2 separate regions of the Homo sapiens genome follow, and region 1 is linked to region 2. Evidence: promoter capture Hi-C in human tissues and cell types (Jung and others, 2019). All regions are on one chromosome and are shown on one strand. Each heading gives the region's core, a stretch centred on a gene start or on the middle of the fragment in contact. The rest is flanking DNA. Distances are from core to core; before and after follow the strand shown. Region 1 holds the start of ZBTB40 (zinc finger and BTB domain containing 40). Region 2 holds the start of C1QB (complement C1q B chain).

Evidence for each region. The method cuts DNA at HindIII sites, captures the fragments that hold promoters and counts their contacts. A contact is called where the count stands out against the background at its distance.
Region 1: a contact is called between the fragment with the promoter of ZBTB40 here and the fragment with the promoter of C1QB in region 2, in 2 of the 25 tissues and cell types used here (H1 embryonic stem cells and IMR-90 fibroblasts).

Annotation. Positions count from the first base shown.
Region 1 is chr1:22,449,289-22,453,429 of GRCh38, reverse strand. ZBTB40 (zinc finger and BTB domain containing 40) reads right to left here and starts at 1,579. Exons shown (of 18, transcript NM_014870.4): 1 at 1,426-1,579. RefSeq lists silencers at 1,096-1,185, 1,526-1,725, 2,040-2,334 and enhancers at 1,296-1,375, 1,089-1,650. The HindIII fragment of the contact is 15,295 bases long and covers 1-4,141 here.
Region 2 is chr1:22,651,196-22,654,935 of GRCh38, reverse strand. C1QB (complement C1q B chain) reads right to left here and starts at 1,700. Exons shown (of 3, transcript NM_001378156.1): 1 at 1,633-1,700. The HindIII fragment of the contact is 7,433 bases long and covers 138-3,740 here.

The DNA of each region.
Region 1 (4,141 bases), core at 330-2,829, 200 kb after region 2:
GTCTTGTTCACCACTGTATTTCCAGGAATTTGAAACGTCTCTGGTACACAGTAAGTGCTCAACAAACACTAAATGATTAATGAATGCATGCGTACATGCATGGGGTGTTCTGAAACCATTTGTTAAACCACTAATGAATAGCTAAGTTTGGGGACTACTGACATAGAAGAAAAGTGTTTATATTAGAAAGGAGGGGCAGAAGTTTGATGATTTAGCTAAGTAGAAAAAAATTTCACTGAGATTGTAATTAAATCTCCATTAACCATACAAAGATCTGGGTACAATTCCAGGGAAGAACAAACAATTCCAGGTAGAAAAGACTTGAAAGAATAAAATCCAAAGCAGTTTGACCGGTGCCATCAGGCAGGGGGCTCCCAGGGACAGGCTCAATTTGGCAGCCCTATAACCTAGTACACCTATACATATATTAACCACTCAGAACAAATTTCTTCCTCGTTTGTAAAATGGAAATACCATACTTACTTATAAAGCGTCGTCATAAAGTAGAACAACACTTGTATGAATATAAATAAAGCACCTGGTTCATTGCAGCACTGGCTGCATGGTACCAACGCTATTCAAAGCAGGAGAAACTCTGAATAGTCAGTAAGACCAGAAGGGAAGCCAGAGTGTTCTGTCAACTAAAGTGCTCTCGGTGCATCGCGCAGTTTTAACTCTTTTCCCACTCCAGAAGAACCGACGAGAGGAATAGCTGAATGACAACACTGATCCAATCTCCTTGTGTTTAGGGCAGGGGTCAGTAAACTTTTGCTGTAAGGGACCAGACAGAAATATTTCTGGCTTTGTGAGCCAGCCGATCAAAGCCAAGCAACGGCTGCGCAACTACTCAGCTCTGCCCTCTTGGCAGGAAAGCAGCCATAGACAATACATCAACAATGAACAGGGCCGTGTTCCAATAAAACTTCATTTATGGACTTGATTTCATAGAACTTTCGCAAATTACATGAAATATTCTTCCCCCTAACCATTTGCAACTGTAAACAAAGACCGAGAGGGGAAGAGAGAAGGGGGGCATGGATTAGGCCCAAGGCCATAGTCCGCTGACGCCCGGCGAAGGGACCTGAAGGGAGGGGGAGTGAGACAGCGACAAGAGGCCTCCGGACGGGCCGAGAGGGAGGTGCGGGGCGACAGCGAGCCCCAGGCGGTGTCAGGTCGGGCCTGGCGCCCTGAGTGGGTCCCCGCGGTCTCTCCCCTCCGCAGTCTACAGCAGAGCCGGCGCCAGGGGTGCGGACCGCCCCTGGAGGGGGCACGTCCGGGGTGTAGGTGAGGCGGCCGTGATTCGGCCGAGTCCCGCGGAGTTCGCCACGCGGAAGGGTCTGTATACACCCCTCATTTAGGGCGCACCCGGGCCCCCGCTGCAGGAAGGGTCTCCACGCGGAGTCCCAGCCCCGTTTCTATGGTTACCTGTTCAGCACCGATTCAAACTGCCGTTCTTTATTGACAGCGCCATAGAGGACACGAACACTCCTGCCCGAAGGGAACAATAAAGCTTTCGCCATTCAACAGCGCCGGAGACGCCAGAAGGCGGCCATCTTGAGGCCGGCGCGCAATGGGTATCAGAGGGGAGGGGGCGGCCCGACCTGCCCCACGCGCCGCGGTCACGTGCTGGGGGCGGGGCCTGCGTCACGCGCTCGCTCTCCACCTATGCTAGGACGGCGGGGGCCGGCTGGTTGCTAGGCTCTTCTCTGACCTCTGACCTTGGCCACTCCCTCCTTCCCTCCCCACACTTCCTAAGTAAAGTTTTTTTCTTTTTTTTTTTTTTGAGATGGGAGATTCGCTCTTGTTTCCCAGGCTGGAGTGTAGCGGCGCGATCTCGCCCCACTGCAGCCTCCGCCTTCCAGGTTCAAGCGATTCTCCTGCCTCAGCCTCCCGAGTAGCTGGGATTACAGGCGCGCGCCACCACGCCCTGCTAATTTTTTTTTTCTCTTCTATTTTTAGTAGAGACAGGATGTCACCATGTTGGCCAGGCTGGTCCCGAACTCCTGAGCCCAGATGATCCACCTGCCTCGGCCTCCCACCATGCCCGGCCCTAAGGAAAGTTCTAATGGAGCTCCGCAGTCTCGCTCCGGCAGCTCTAGGATTAGGATTTTGTTTCAAAGGAGGGCAAGGAAGTGAACACAAAAGGCTTCGTTTTTCCAAAACAACACATTCACGTGCGAGGCGGAGAGGCGACCTGAGCCGCGTCCCCAGCCCGCACTCTTTGTGGGACAGGCTTGGCGCTGGTGGGGCGCAGTGGGCTGAAGGCATCCTGGAGGCATCCTGATCCTGCCTCTCGCACCTCCCAATTTTGGGATTTAGGGGCTTTGGGATTTAGTCCTAGCTTTTCTTTTGCTCATTTTCCTTCTCACACACTATGCGTTCCCTGTTGAAGCGTCCCCTTGCCACCCTTCCTTACACAAACATTTAAATCAGATCCAGCAGTAACAAACTGAGTCACCTCCGCGCTGGCCCACTGAACACAGTCACCCTGTCACTGACATGCAGCCACTTTTTCTGTCCCTGACAGTTACGTGCCCAAATCCAGCCATCTTAGTGCAATGTCCAGCTTCCTCTGTGGTTATACCTTTTCCATCTGCAATGTCAATATTCAGTCGTTCTGAGAGCTGTCTCTGGCTGACTGACTCACCCCATCACCGTTTTACATCACAAATTCAATCTACTGGGCAGAACTGTCACTTGCATTGTTGCTGTCTCCCGGTCGATCATATTTACTGTCACTGTCTGACATGCAGCTACCGTCATTGACCATAAACTTCAAACGGTTCTGTTCAAAATAGCACTTTGTTTGCCCAGCTGTTGCCCTTTCTGTTGTTTTCACTGTCATTGTCATGCAGCCACTTTTGCTGCCACACAGTCAAGCCAGTATTTAACAGGCCCCTTCAGGGTACACTGTTGTCCTCATACCCTTGTGCCCAGTTAGTCACTTTCACTATTATACTCATGTCACCGTTACATTCAGGGTCGGATTTACTGTAGCTGTTATTTAGTCACTTTTGTAGTAACTGGAACCACGCCTACAGCTGTTGTGTCTCCTAAGCCCTCATTTCCACCAGCCTCACATTCTCTTTTAGTGGGAACATAGGGTTGCTAGATTTAGCAAACAAACACCTAGAAGGGTGCTTGGCACATAGTAGGTGCTCTAGAAATATTTATCGAGTTAATGGGATTACAGGTGTGAGCCACTGGGCATTTTGGGAGCATTTTGGGAGGCCGAGGCAGGCGGATCACCTGAGGTCAGGAGTTCGAGACCAGCCTGGCCAACATGGTGAAACCCCCGTCTCTACTAAAAATAGAAAAATTACCTGGGCATGGTGGCAGGTGCCTGTAATCCCAGTTACTCAGGATGCTGAGGCAGGAGAATCGCTTGAACCTGGGAGGCGGAGGTTGGAGTGAGCTGAGATCACGCCACTGCACTCCAGCCTGGGCAACGAGAGCGAGACTCCGTCTCAAAAAAAAAAAAAAGAGAAATATTTATCGAATTAATGGATTTTAAAAAACAGTATCATTGCCAATGTGCTGTATGTGAATGCAGATGGCTTGAAGCTCAGGAGTCTCAATAGGAATAAGTTTTCAGGCACCATCTGTCCCTCCTGTTCCACTTAACAAGACTTCAAATCCTATAGGGACTAAACGAAGAGAGCAAAAGAAAAGTGGCCACCAAGTGTACTCAGTTATTGGGACAGCAGTGACAAAGAAGAGGCTTTCTATAACTTTTTTTAAATGAATACATGCTTATTATAAAATATTTAGGAAATATGGAAAGGAATCTTTCCCTGGGGGGATTGTTTTAGACATCTCCCAACACACCCCACACATGTATCCACAGTCAGTGGATCAGTGGCTGCAGTTTCCCCATCACCATTTACTTAAGGTTTTGCATTAACAGAAGTTCTCATGGGGCTGACTTGCCTACAGTTCATGAACAACGACATACTGTCATGGAGAGCAATGGCTCTGGCTTCTGGCTGGTCATGATATGGAAGAATAAGAAGACAATGGCTAGACCTTCTAGACCTTGTAAGGGCCTCATCTCCCCACAGAGCTTCGACAGCTGCGGAGAAATAACCTGTGCTTCCCGATCACCAGAAGGACCCAAACCTTGACTTTGAGGGGGAGGGTT
Region 2 (3,740 bases), core at 451-2,950:
TGGTGGTAAAAACATAAACTTTGAAGCCAGACAGCCTGATAAAAGGACTAATGCATGGGACACACCAAGGGTAGTGGTAGGCACATGGTCAGTGTTCGGTGAAAGTGGCTTTTTACCACCACGATGATTGCTGCTCTTGTTAGGCAGCACACATTCACCTGGTGGCGGGAGCCTGTAGTGTCACAAGGAAAGCAACACTCAGCGTTCACATAAGGTCTCTACTGCTTCTTAGCTAAGGGACTTGGGAAATCACTCCTTCTCTCTGGCCACAGTTTACCCTCCTATAAAGTGGGGATAATGCTACTCTCTCCCTCATAGGGTATGTGCGAGGACATGAGTTACAGCTTCCAACAGAGCCTGGCATGTTGGAAATTCTTAATGAATATTAGCTATTTTATTATTATCACTGTCATCCAAGAATTCCTGAGTGGTTGAACAGAAGGGAAGATGGTTGGAGAAGTAAAAAAAGACAATCCCTTTGAAAGACTGTGTTTAGAGGGAGGGGCTCTGTCAGTTGGAGGCAGCAAGGGGTGGAGAGCTGTGACCAGTTGGTGGGGAGAGAGGGTGGGGAGCAGGGTACTGACAGGACTTGGGCTTCCTGGGGAAGCCAGGGGCAGGGGGAGTGGGAAAGTGCTGGTTCTAGCCCATTTCAAAAGCCACCGAGTTTCAGCCTTGGGTTAGGGCTTACAACTCATCTGGTTTAACTGCCTCCTGCCTGTGCCAGCCCATCATCATTGCCAGCGCGGTTTCTCCTGTCCTCCCCCCAGGCTCTGACCTTTCCATCTCCTTCGGTCCAGCAGTCCCTTTCCGCAACATGGAGTCAGGCCCACTTGACTTTAAAGCCCCATCTGCTACCGGCTGCATAACCTCAGGCAAGTGCCTTAACCTCTCTGAGCCTCTTGGCAATGCTGATTTCAACCTGACAGGGCTGCCAGAAGGATGACAGGAGAAGGCGCTTAGAAGAAATAAGGTCCCCCCTGCCCCGTGCAGTGCCACATCCCACTCCCCAGCTGCACAAACATTGCGCTCACTCAGTACTAGCTGAGAACTCATCGTAACTCTACCTGCACATCCCCTTATTTCTTTGGAAGAGTCAAGCTGAGCTTTCTCAGCGAGTATGAGGAAATAAGCAAGGTGTTGGGGAAATGCTGGGCCGGGCAGGAGCGACTGGCTTATAATCCCACTCCTGCCTCTGGTTTACTGATAAATTTTGAGCCAGGGCATGCACTAAGCTTTTGCAAGCTTGATCTCCTGTAAGGCACAGCAGTGCTGAAAGATTCTGTTCTCTGTAGGGGGGCCGGGCTGAGAGAGGTTAGGTGACTTGCCCAAGATAACCAATACATAAGGTGCAGAGCCAGACTCAGCTCAAGTCTCTGCGATGCCAAAGCTCCTATGTGCCAGGCTCCCGCTTTAGGTGGCCTGCCCATCCGCTAGGCCCTGGGTAGCAGCAGACTCCCCAACTCACCCCAGAGATCTGGGTCCCATAGGTCTGGGATTGGGCCCAGCTACCTGCACTGTTAAACAGCCTAACTGGCTCCGAGGCAGGTGACGCAAAGCTCACACTTACGGAATCACCACTTTCTGCCATATTGGCCCTGCCAGCCTCCCCCAGGCGCCAAGCCCCGTCCTCACCTGGGAAGCTGGTGTCCTGTGAGGCCACTGGGCTGAGCAGCAGTGGGACCAGGAGCCGAGAGCCTACTGCCCTCGGTCCGAAGCGGAAGTTCCCTTCCCCAGAGGCGGGAAGGGCTTTCCCCTGACGGTCCCCTCCCATGGACCAGCAGGCTGGCCCCTTTCCCGTCCCCTCACTGTCCCCCCACCCTGCTGCCCTCAGGCAGTTTCAGGTCCTATTTCTGCAACCCACTGGATTTACTGTAAATGAGACGGGTGGGTGGCAAGTTTGGTTCTGCCAACTCAGCAGCTGTGGGGAGAACACGCTGTCCTGGGGGAACATCCACAGCTCACCCTCCCAGGCTCTCTGACCTCGTGATCTTCTTCTACACTGGGCAGGGGTGTTCCTCAGTGAGCATCATGTGGCGGGCCCGCTGCCTGAGTGCTGGCTTACAGTCAGAGCCTTTGATTCCAATCCCGCCTCTGCCACTTGCCAGTTGATGTGTTGTCAGTCAAGGGAGCCCCAATTTTCTCTGCTATAGGATGGGACCATAATTGTACCTGCTCTACAGATACAGATCTCACAGGCCACTGGGAGGATAATGGAGGAAATGATGGGGGAGGAAGTGTCTGGGGGTAAACTGTAAAGGGCTGTGCACGTGTTCATTGTTAATATCACTTCATGTCCCAGGCTTCCCCTTTCTGGGCTCATCTCTTCTGCTTCCTTCCCATTCTGTGCCCCTGCTCTTTCCCTGTTCTCAGAAAATAATCTCATAATGAATTTTAAATGTGTTCATTATTTATTGATACCCCTCCCTCTGCTTCCAGCAGGGCTGGACGCTGATGACAATAATAGGCCCAGGCAGGGGCCTGTTGCTTCTTCTCGATCCTGGAATCACGCCAAGTTAGGGCCGGAGAGGGGCTGAGGTTACTCGGCCCATCCTCCTCATTTTATATACGAGGAAACTGAGGCCCAGAGGGGAGACCCACCATTTAACAAATATTTAGTGTTTGCTTCCATGTGCACTGAAGAGAGAGCTCTTAGCAAATCAGCCATGGTCCCTGCCCCCATGGGGCCTCCCTTCTACGGGGGGAGACTGGTGTTAAACACGGAATGACATGAGGCTTCATTGCTTCTGTGATAAATGTCACAGAAAGACGTGACTGCTGGGGCCGATGCCTCATGGAGGTGGCAGATGCAGACCTGGAAGCCGGCATCCCTGGCACTAGGATATCAGTCTCTCCCTGTGGCTGCGTCTCAGACGACATGATGACTAGCAAGCACCAGGAGCTGGAGGCCCTCTTGACATCTGTGCTTGGAGATGGAAATTCACTGGGCTTGTGGATGCAGCTTGGTGGAAATTAAGTGTTAACTGCAATGGGTGAACAGGAGGGAAAGATAAGTTTGATAAAACCAAAAGGTCTCTGAGCTCAGTCAACTATAGTCCCGAAGGGACCCAGGCTAGGGTGAAGAGAAGAAACACTGGATTCCACAAAGGGAGAAACGAGTTAGTAGGTTGCAAGTTGAGGGCTTCTGAGCATTCCCAAAGCCGAGTGGCTCTGGGCCTCTAGTTCTTTTTTTTTTTTTTTTTCTTGAGATGGAGTCTCAGTCTGTTGCTCAGGCTGGAGTGCAGTGGTGCGACCTCAGCTCACTAGAACCTCTTCCTCCCAAGTTCAAGCGATTCTCCTGCCTCAGCCTCCCAGGTAGCTGGGACTACAGGTGCATGCCACCAAGCCCAGCTAATTTTTGTATTTTTTTTTAGTAGATACAGGGTTTCACCATGTTGGCCAGGCCGGTCTCAAACTCCTGACCTCAAGTTGATCTGCCTGCCTCGGCCTCCCAAAGTGCTGGGATTACAGGCGTGAGCCACCATGCCCAGCCTCTGGGCCTCTAATTCTTAGGTGGCTAAGGGCAATGGGAAAAGATGGATGTCAATTTGGGGTAGAAGCAGTGAGGCTAAGAACAGGAAGCAGCAGAGGTGGGTTAGGAGCACGGACTTTGGCAGTTTGAATCCCAGCTCTTCGTCTTGCTAACTATGTGGCCACGGGAATGTTTACTGGCCTCAGTTTCCTCGTGTAGAAATGGGAAGCATGAACGCCTATCTCCTGGGGCTGTTTTGGGGGCCAGCGAG